Linked DNA regions of Homo sapiens: region 1 is linked to region 2. The links are contacts of gene promoters, found by promoter capture Hi-C in human tissues and cell types (Jung and others, 2019). All regions are on one chromosome and are shown on one strand. The core of a region is centred on a gene start or on the middle of the fragment in contact, and the rest is flanking DNA. Distances in the headings are between cores, read along the strand shown.

Region 1 (3,653 bases), core at 504-3,003, 110 kb before region 2:
ATCACTAACGCTGGCTTCTCTGAGAGATTCGGGACTCCCACCCCCTTGATGCATTTACCTTTTACATCACTGTCTGTGATGCGTTTCAGATCCTTCAGCAAACTCCAGGACCCCTTTTGCAGTGTGGCCTCATCTGTCAGAGGAGATATAACCCCAGATTCCAGCCTTACTGTCTCATTGGCGCGCCTAATCTTAGAAACTACAATACCCATGAGGCCACTGGGCAAAGATAGGCCTGGTTAAGGACTCAGCCGCCCGTTGCCTTCTGGGAGTTGTAGTTTTATTACATAAAATTGCCAGCCGAGGATAGGGAAAACGGTATTTACTAGCCTCGGGGAACCTCGGAATCTGCATCTCAGCCTTCTCCATTCCCGAATCCCGGAGACCCTGCTGTCAGCCTCTTCCTTCCCCTGGTCTTATCTCCCTCCTTTCCCAGGACCCAGGGGTCCGTGGTCCCCCCTGCCCTCACCAACGACCCCCATATAGGCATCCTCATTAAGCGACAGTTCCTGGAAATCCTTCACGGCATTCTCTACCCTTTCCATCATGGCTTTGTGATGCTTCGCATCCAGGTGGCCAGGCAGGTAATCTTTCTCCAGGGACTTTAGCGCCAGCACGACAGACGGGTCACATATAACACACCCCTCGGCAGGAAGCAAGCAACCGGCCAGCGCCGCACACAGGAGGGTAAAATGCGGCCCCATTGCAGCCGGCGCGCACAGTTCCCGAAGACCGTTAGGAAGGGTGCTCTCACCCCAAACCGAGAGCAGGAGAACGCTAAACGGAGAAAAGCCAAAATCCATCTTAAGAAATCCCACTGGGCCGCCTATCCATGGGGTCCGCAAACCTCGAAAAGAGGATCTTCAGGAAATCTCCAAATAAAGAGGACCTATGTCCTTCATCAAATGCCTCCGAAGTGTGAAACTGAGCCCCAATCCAGGGGACCCAAAATTTAGGGTTCTCACTGAATCCCCCAACTGAGAGATCAGAAAAACTATTAAACAGGAATCACTCATAAGTCCCCAAACTCAGAACCTGGAATCTCCCAACCCCATGCGCCCCTTCCCAAAATCCCAAACTGTGGAATTTTCCAAGTCCCCAGATTGACGTGAGCCTGAACTCCAACCCTTAAGAGCAACACCGAGGCACTCCCCCGCCAGCCCCCCAAAACCTGTTGAACCTCAAGCTGAAGATTCAATGCCCAAACCAATAAACATCTAACACAGACCCAACCACGATATTATCAAACTCGGAACTCCTTCAAAACCAAAACACATACCAGATTCCTAGAACTGAGGACCCCACTAACACTTAAGCGAGACTCCATGCGGTCCTCTAGACCTAGGGGGCCCTTGTTCACCCTTCCCCAAAACTAACGGGCTCCCAATTTGCAGGGCGCACCCTTCCGCTTAGAAAAAGGAGCCCCGATGCATCCTGAACAGTGATGCACCCTAAACAGCCGCTCCCCGACCTTGGTTCCCGATTTGTGGCCTCTAACACTAGGGTTCATTGAGGAGCCCGGTCCAGGTTCTGAGGGCTTTTAAAGAGGAAGCCGGGGTCATGACCACCTACGCTAATTTTCCCAGGGGTAAAATCAAGGATTGTGTTGGGGACGAGGGTAAGGTTGGTTGCGTGAAATCGAGAGCTTTTCGACGGGGTCTGAGTCACGGACGATCCCCTCTCCACAAGGAACTCCTGAAACCACCCCCTCCGAGCTTCTCACGTAGGGGCCCGAATTCCTTTATAGATATTCCTTGGGGTTTTCCTCGGCCCCACCCAGAAACTCAACTCTGTCTGATTGGACTGCAACAAAGGGAGGTCCCGCCCATCGCTCCATGACGTCACAGAGGCTGCAGCCTTTTTGGACTAGAATTTTCCCAGCATCTAGGGAAGAGGAAGCCTCCTGACTACTCTGGCTTCCAGAGTCAAGGACCGGACTCAGGCCTTCAGTTTCCTCCCCTCCCCTTGCCCCAGGACCCAGGCTTTGGGCTAGATCCGGCCCCCCAGGCCGCTGCCGCCCCCACCGCGGTCCTTGGAAACGGCTGTCGAGCCACGAAGTGGACATTTTAGCCCTAAGACTACAACTCCCAAAATGCCCTGGGGCCTCTTTCTCTGTAGCTGACTGACGCTGCCAACCTCATAGCTTTCCGGGAAATGTAGTTCAGTGATAATCCGCTCCCTCCTCCGCCTCTTCTGCCCACGCGGAGGTCCCAGTGGGAGGAGAGGACTGGGGGCCAATACTGACAGTCCAGGAGTGAGCAACTGGGGGCTCAGACGTTAGGGTCCTGGAAGGTCTCTCTCTCCTGTGTGATAGAAACAGGGAACCAGAAAAACAGGGACCACAACTCACACAAGTCCAGCAACAAGGGGCTGTCAGATCTAAGTAGGGACAGTACTCCCAATCACGAGTAATAAAAATCCTCAGGGCCCGGCGCGGTGGCTCACGCTTGTAATTCCAGCGCTTTGGGAGGCCGAGGCGGGCAGATTGTCTGAGGTCAGGAGTTCGAGGCCAGCCTGGCTAACATGGTGAAACCCCGTCTCTACTAAAAATACAAAAATTAGCTGGGCATGGTGGCGAACGTCTGTAGTCCCAGCTACTTGGGAGGCTGAGGCACCAGAATCCGAGAGGTGGGAGTTTGCAGTGGGCCGAGATCACACTACTGCACTCCAGCCTGGGCCACAGAGCAAGACTCGATCTCTGAAAAAAAATAAATTAATTAAAAAAAAATAAAAGTCTTCAGAAGTACCCCACCTTTTCCTCCACTCTCTTACACACACACACACACACACACACACACAAACCCACACACACATACACAGTGGCTCTGGCTCCAAAAAAGCTACAGAGACACGGGTTAGTGCTGTAGACTTTTAATTCATACCTCCTGCTCTCTCACCCGTGGCAGCTGAGTTGGGAACAGTACTGTAACAATTGTAACTGTAACTCCCTGATAAGCCTACAGGCATGGGGTCTGGATGAGTAGACAGGGGATGTGATCAGAGCTGACTATGTTTAAGGTTTCTTCTTTCACCCTCCAAAAAACAGCAAGGGGCTCCTGAGATCTCGACAACCCCGTCCACCTTGGCCAGACCTCGTGCTCCTGCCTGGATCTGAGGCTGGGTCCAGGGTCTGCCTACCTTTAGATCGTTTTATCTCAGACCTGCCCAAAGCCAGATGTAGTGGTTCTGGGAGTTCAGGGACAGACAGTGGTTAGCAATGAGCACGGTACCTGCCAGTTTGTCACAAGCACAGAGGGTGTGTTTATACCTGCACACTTCCAGAAAACAGATCCCAGACCCTCAGCAGCCCACCTGCAGACAAAGACCAACTTCCTTCATTGTGAGAGGCAACCTGAACTCACACCCAATATATGGAGCTCTTGGCAGTTTATGAGCTTTAAAAAAAAGTGTCCCTGGATCCCTGGAAAGTTCTGCTCCAGAAGCTGTACCATTTTGGCAGTGATCCCTCACCCCACGTTCACATTTTAGCCTGTCTGCTCAAAACAAACAAAAAAAAGTCTTTGAGGGGCTGTGGGGCTTGTTGGACAGAGTCCCGCTCTGCTCACCAACTACCCCAGCTTTTCCAGAGACTGTGAACAGAGCAAGACGCTGGCCAACTAGAGATGGTTTGTTTTCCATCTCAATTTTTCCAG
Region 2 (3,387 bases), core at 756-3,255:
AATGGAGAAATTTAGACATTTTATTTATGACTAAGAATAAAACAAAGTGCAGGGCACAGTGACTCACTCCTGTAATCCCAAAGCTTTGGGAGGCCAAAGAGGGAAGATCACTTGAGCCCAGGAGTTAAAGACCAGTCTGGGCAACATAGGGAGACCTTGTGTCTGCAAAAAAAATAAAAATAAAAAAATAGGGCCGGGTGCGGTGGCTCATGCCTGTAATCCCAACACTTTGGGAGGCCGAGGCGGGTGGATCACCTGAGGTCAGGAGTTCGAGACCAGCCTGACCAACATGGTGATACCCTGTCTCTACTAAAAATACAAAACTTAGCCAGGCGTAGTGACGGGCGCCTGTAATCCCAGCTACTTGGGAGGCTGAGGAAGAAGAATCACTTGAACCCGGGAGGCAGAGGTTGCAGCGAGCCGAGATCGTGCCATTGCACTCCAGCCCGGGTGACAGAGTGAGATTTCGTCTCAAATAAATAAATAAATAAATAAATAAATAAATAAAATAAGCTGAGCATGGTGGTACATGCCTGTAGTCTCAGCTACTAGGGAGGCTGAGGTGGGAGTATCGCTTGGGCCCAGGAGACTGAGGCTGCAGTGAGCCATGATTGCACCACTGCACTCCAGCCTGGGTGACAGAGTGAGACTCTGTCTCAAGAAAATAAATAATTTTTTTTAATTTAAAAAAAAACAAAAAACAGCCTGGGTAACATGGCAAAACCCTGTCTCTACAAAAAGTAGAAAAAGTTAGCTAGGTGGCCAGGCGCAGTGGCTCATGCCTGTAATCCCAGCATTTTGGGAGGCCGAGGCAGGCAGATCACCTGAGGTCGGGAGTTCAAGACCAGCCTGACCAACATGGAGAAACCCTGTCTTTACTAAAAATACAAAATTAGCAGGGCGTGGTGGTGGGTGCCTGTAATCCCAGCTACTCGGGCAGCTGAGGCAGGAGAATCGCTTGAACCCAGGAGGGGAGGTTGCGGTGAGCCGAGATCACGCCATTGCACTCCAGCCTGGGCAACAAGAGTGAAACTCCTTCTCAAAAAAAAAAAAGAAAAAGGAAGGAAAGAAGGAAAGAAAGAAAGAGAGAGAAAAAGGAAAGGAAAGGAAAGAACGAGGAGGGGAGGGGAAGGGGAAGGGGAAGGGGGAAAGAAAGAAAGAAAGGAAGGAAGGCCAGTCGCGGTGGCTCACGCCTGTAATCCCAGCACTTTGGGAGGCCGAGGCGGGCAGATCACAAGGTCAGGAGATCGAGACCATCCTGGCTAACACAGTGAAACCCCATCTCTACTAAAAATACAAAAAAGTTGGGCCAGGCGCAGTGGCTTACGCCTGTAATCCCAGCACTTTGGGAGGCCGAGGCGGGAGGATCACGAGGTTAGGAGTTCGAGACCAGCCTGACCAACATGGTGAAACCCCGTCTCTACTAAAAATACAAAAATTATCCAGGCATGGTGGCACGTGCCTGTAATCCCAGCTATTCAGGAGGTTGAGGCAGGAGAATTGCTTGAACCAGGGAGGCGAAGGTTGCAGTGAACCGAGATCGCGCCACTGCAATCCAGCCTGGGCGACAGAGCGAGACTCTGTCTCAAGAAAAAAACAAAGAAAAAAATACAAAAAAATTAGCCGGGCGTGGTGGCGGGCGCCTGTAGTCCCAGCTATTCAGGAGGCTGAGGCAGGAGAATGGCATGAACCCGGGAGGCAGAGCTTGCAGTGAGCCGAGATCGCACCACTGCACTCCAGCCTGGGCGACAGAGAGAGACCCCGTCTCAAAAAAAAAAAAAAAAAAGAAAGAAAGAAAGAAAAGAAAAGAAAAAGAAAGAGAAAGAAAGAAAGAAAGAGGTTTTTGCGGATTTAAGTTAAGTTACGACGATGTCATGGGGTGTCCTAATAGGAGGAGATGGACAGCAACAAAAACACAAAGGAAGATCATCATGGGATGATGGAGGCAAAGATGTGGCCATAAAAAAAACCACAGAACCTCAGGAATTGCTGGCAACCACCAGAAGCTAAGAGAGAGTCAATAAAAGCTCCTCCTTAGAACCTTCAGTGGAAGTATAGCCCTGCCAATCCCTTGACTCCAGGCCTCTGGCCTCCAGAACCGCAAGATAATCCATTTCTGTTGTTTTCGGCCATGCGCTTTGTTACAGCCACCACATGAATCTAATACCTACCCAGGGTCTTTGAAATATCTACAGTTCTCTAGGCACCCTAGGCCAAGAGATGACATTCCTCATAGAGAAGAAAGGAAGGGAGGGGGCTCCGGTAGATTTAGGGTACTCCAGGATACCTACCAATAAAACCATGGAGGCCCGGGTCCCAGGGGGCCGCGGGGGGAGCTGGAGATAAGTGGGGGAGCCAGAGTGTGCCTGGGAGGAACGTTGAAATGGAGATGTTTAGAAACTGGCATGTCTGGGAGACTTTTCATTTTGTTCTGTACTAAGAAAAATTCTTCTGCCTTGGGATCCTGTTGATCTATGACCTTACCCCCAACCCTGTGCTCTCTGAAACATGTGCTGTGTCCACTCAGGGTTAAATGGATTAAGGGCAGTGCAAGATGTGCTTTGTTAAACAGATGCTTGAAGGCAGCATGCTCGTTAAGAGTCATCACCACTCCCTAATCTCAAGTACCCAGGGACACAAACACTGCGGAAGGCCGCAGGGTCCTCTGCCTAGGAAAACCAGAGACCTTTGTTCACTTGTTTATCTGCTGACCTTCCCTCCACTATTGTCCTATGACCCTGCCAAATCCCCCTCTGCGAGAAACACCCAAGAATGATCAATAAAAAAATAATAATAATAATTAAAAAAAAAAAGAAACTGGCATGTCTTAGTGACAAATAGTAGAGTGGGCATGTCCATAATTGAAGTGCTTTAGGAGATATTTTGAGGTTCAGAACTGGGCCCTCTCAACTTCCTCAACTACCTGCTCTCCAGCTGTGTGCCACTGTGGGGACACAGAGGGTGATAATAAATGCACCAGCCTGGCAAAACAGCCCCACAAGATGATGGAATTTGCTACTCTCATTCTCAGACTTGCAGTCAGCTGTGGATATTCTGAGCTACCGTCCCATGATGCTCAGACAAAACAGCAGGCAACCAACTTGCAAGGTGAACTGGGGACACAAGGGAGATGCAAACCTCTCACCGCACTGTCTTGGCACAGAGTATCCAGGACTACAATCCCCATGATGCTTAAAGAGCAATGGCTGGGCCAGGCGCGGTGGCTCACGCCTGTAATCCCAGCACTTTGGGAGGCTGAGATGGGCAGATCACCTGTCAGCTGGTCAGGAGTTCGAGACCAGCTTGGTCAACATGGTGAAACCTCATCTCTACCAAAAATATAAAAATCAGCCGGACGTGGTGGCAGGTGCCTGTAATCCTAGCTAC

What was found. Contacts are between HindIII fragments. The study calls those that stand out against the background at their distance.
Region 1: the fragment with the promoter of IZUMO1 here is called in contact with a fragment that was not itself captured in region 2 in 3 of the 25 tissues and cell types used here (dorsolateral prefrontal cortex, heart left ventricle and lymphoblastoid cells).

What each region holds. Positions count from the first base shown.
Region 1 is chr19:48,745,156-48,748,808 of GRCh38, forward strand. IZUMO1 (izumo sperm-oocyte fusion 1) reads right to left here and starts at 1,754. Exons shown (of 10, transcript NM_182575.3): 1 at 1,280-1,754; 2 at 470-777; 3 at 59-133. The coding sequence starts at 704. FUT1 (fucosyltransferase 1 (H blood group)) reads right to left here. Exons shown (of 2, transcript NM_001384359.1): 2 at 2,856-3,653. RefSeq lists a cis regulatory region at 1-473 and enhancers at 1,249-2,034, 2,035-2,820. The HindIII fragment of the contact is 12,211 bases long and covers 12-3,653 here.
Region 2 is chr19:48,855,131-48,858,517 of GRCh38, forward strand. It overlaps PLEKHA4 (pleckstrin homology domain containing A4), which reads right to left. Exons shown (of 20, transcript NM_020904.3): 9 at 2,292-2,366. Among named protein-coding and RNA genes, the nearest start is that of PLEKHA4, 12 kb to the right of the region's middle. The HindIII fragment of the contact is 8,029 bases long and covers 1-3,387 here.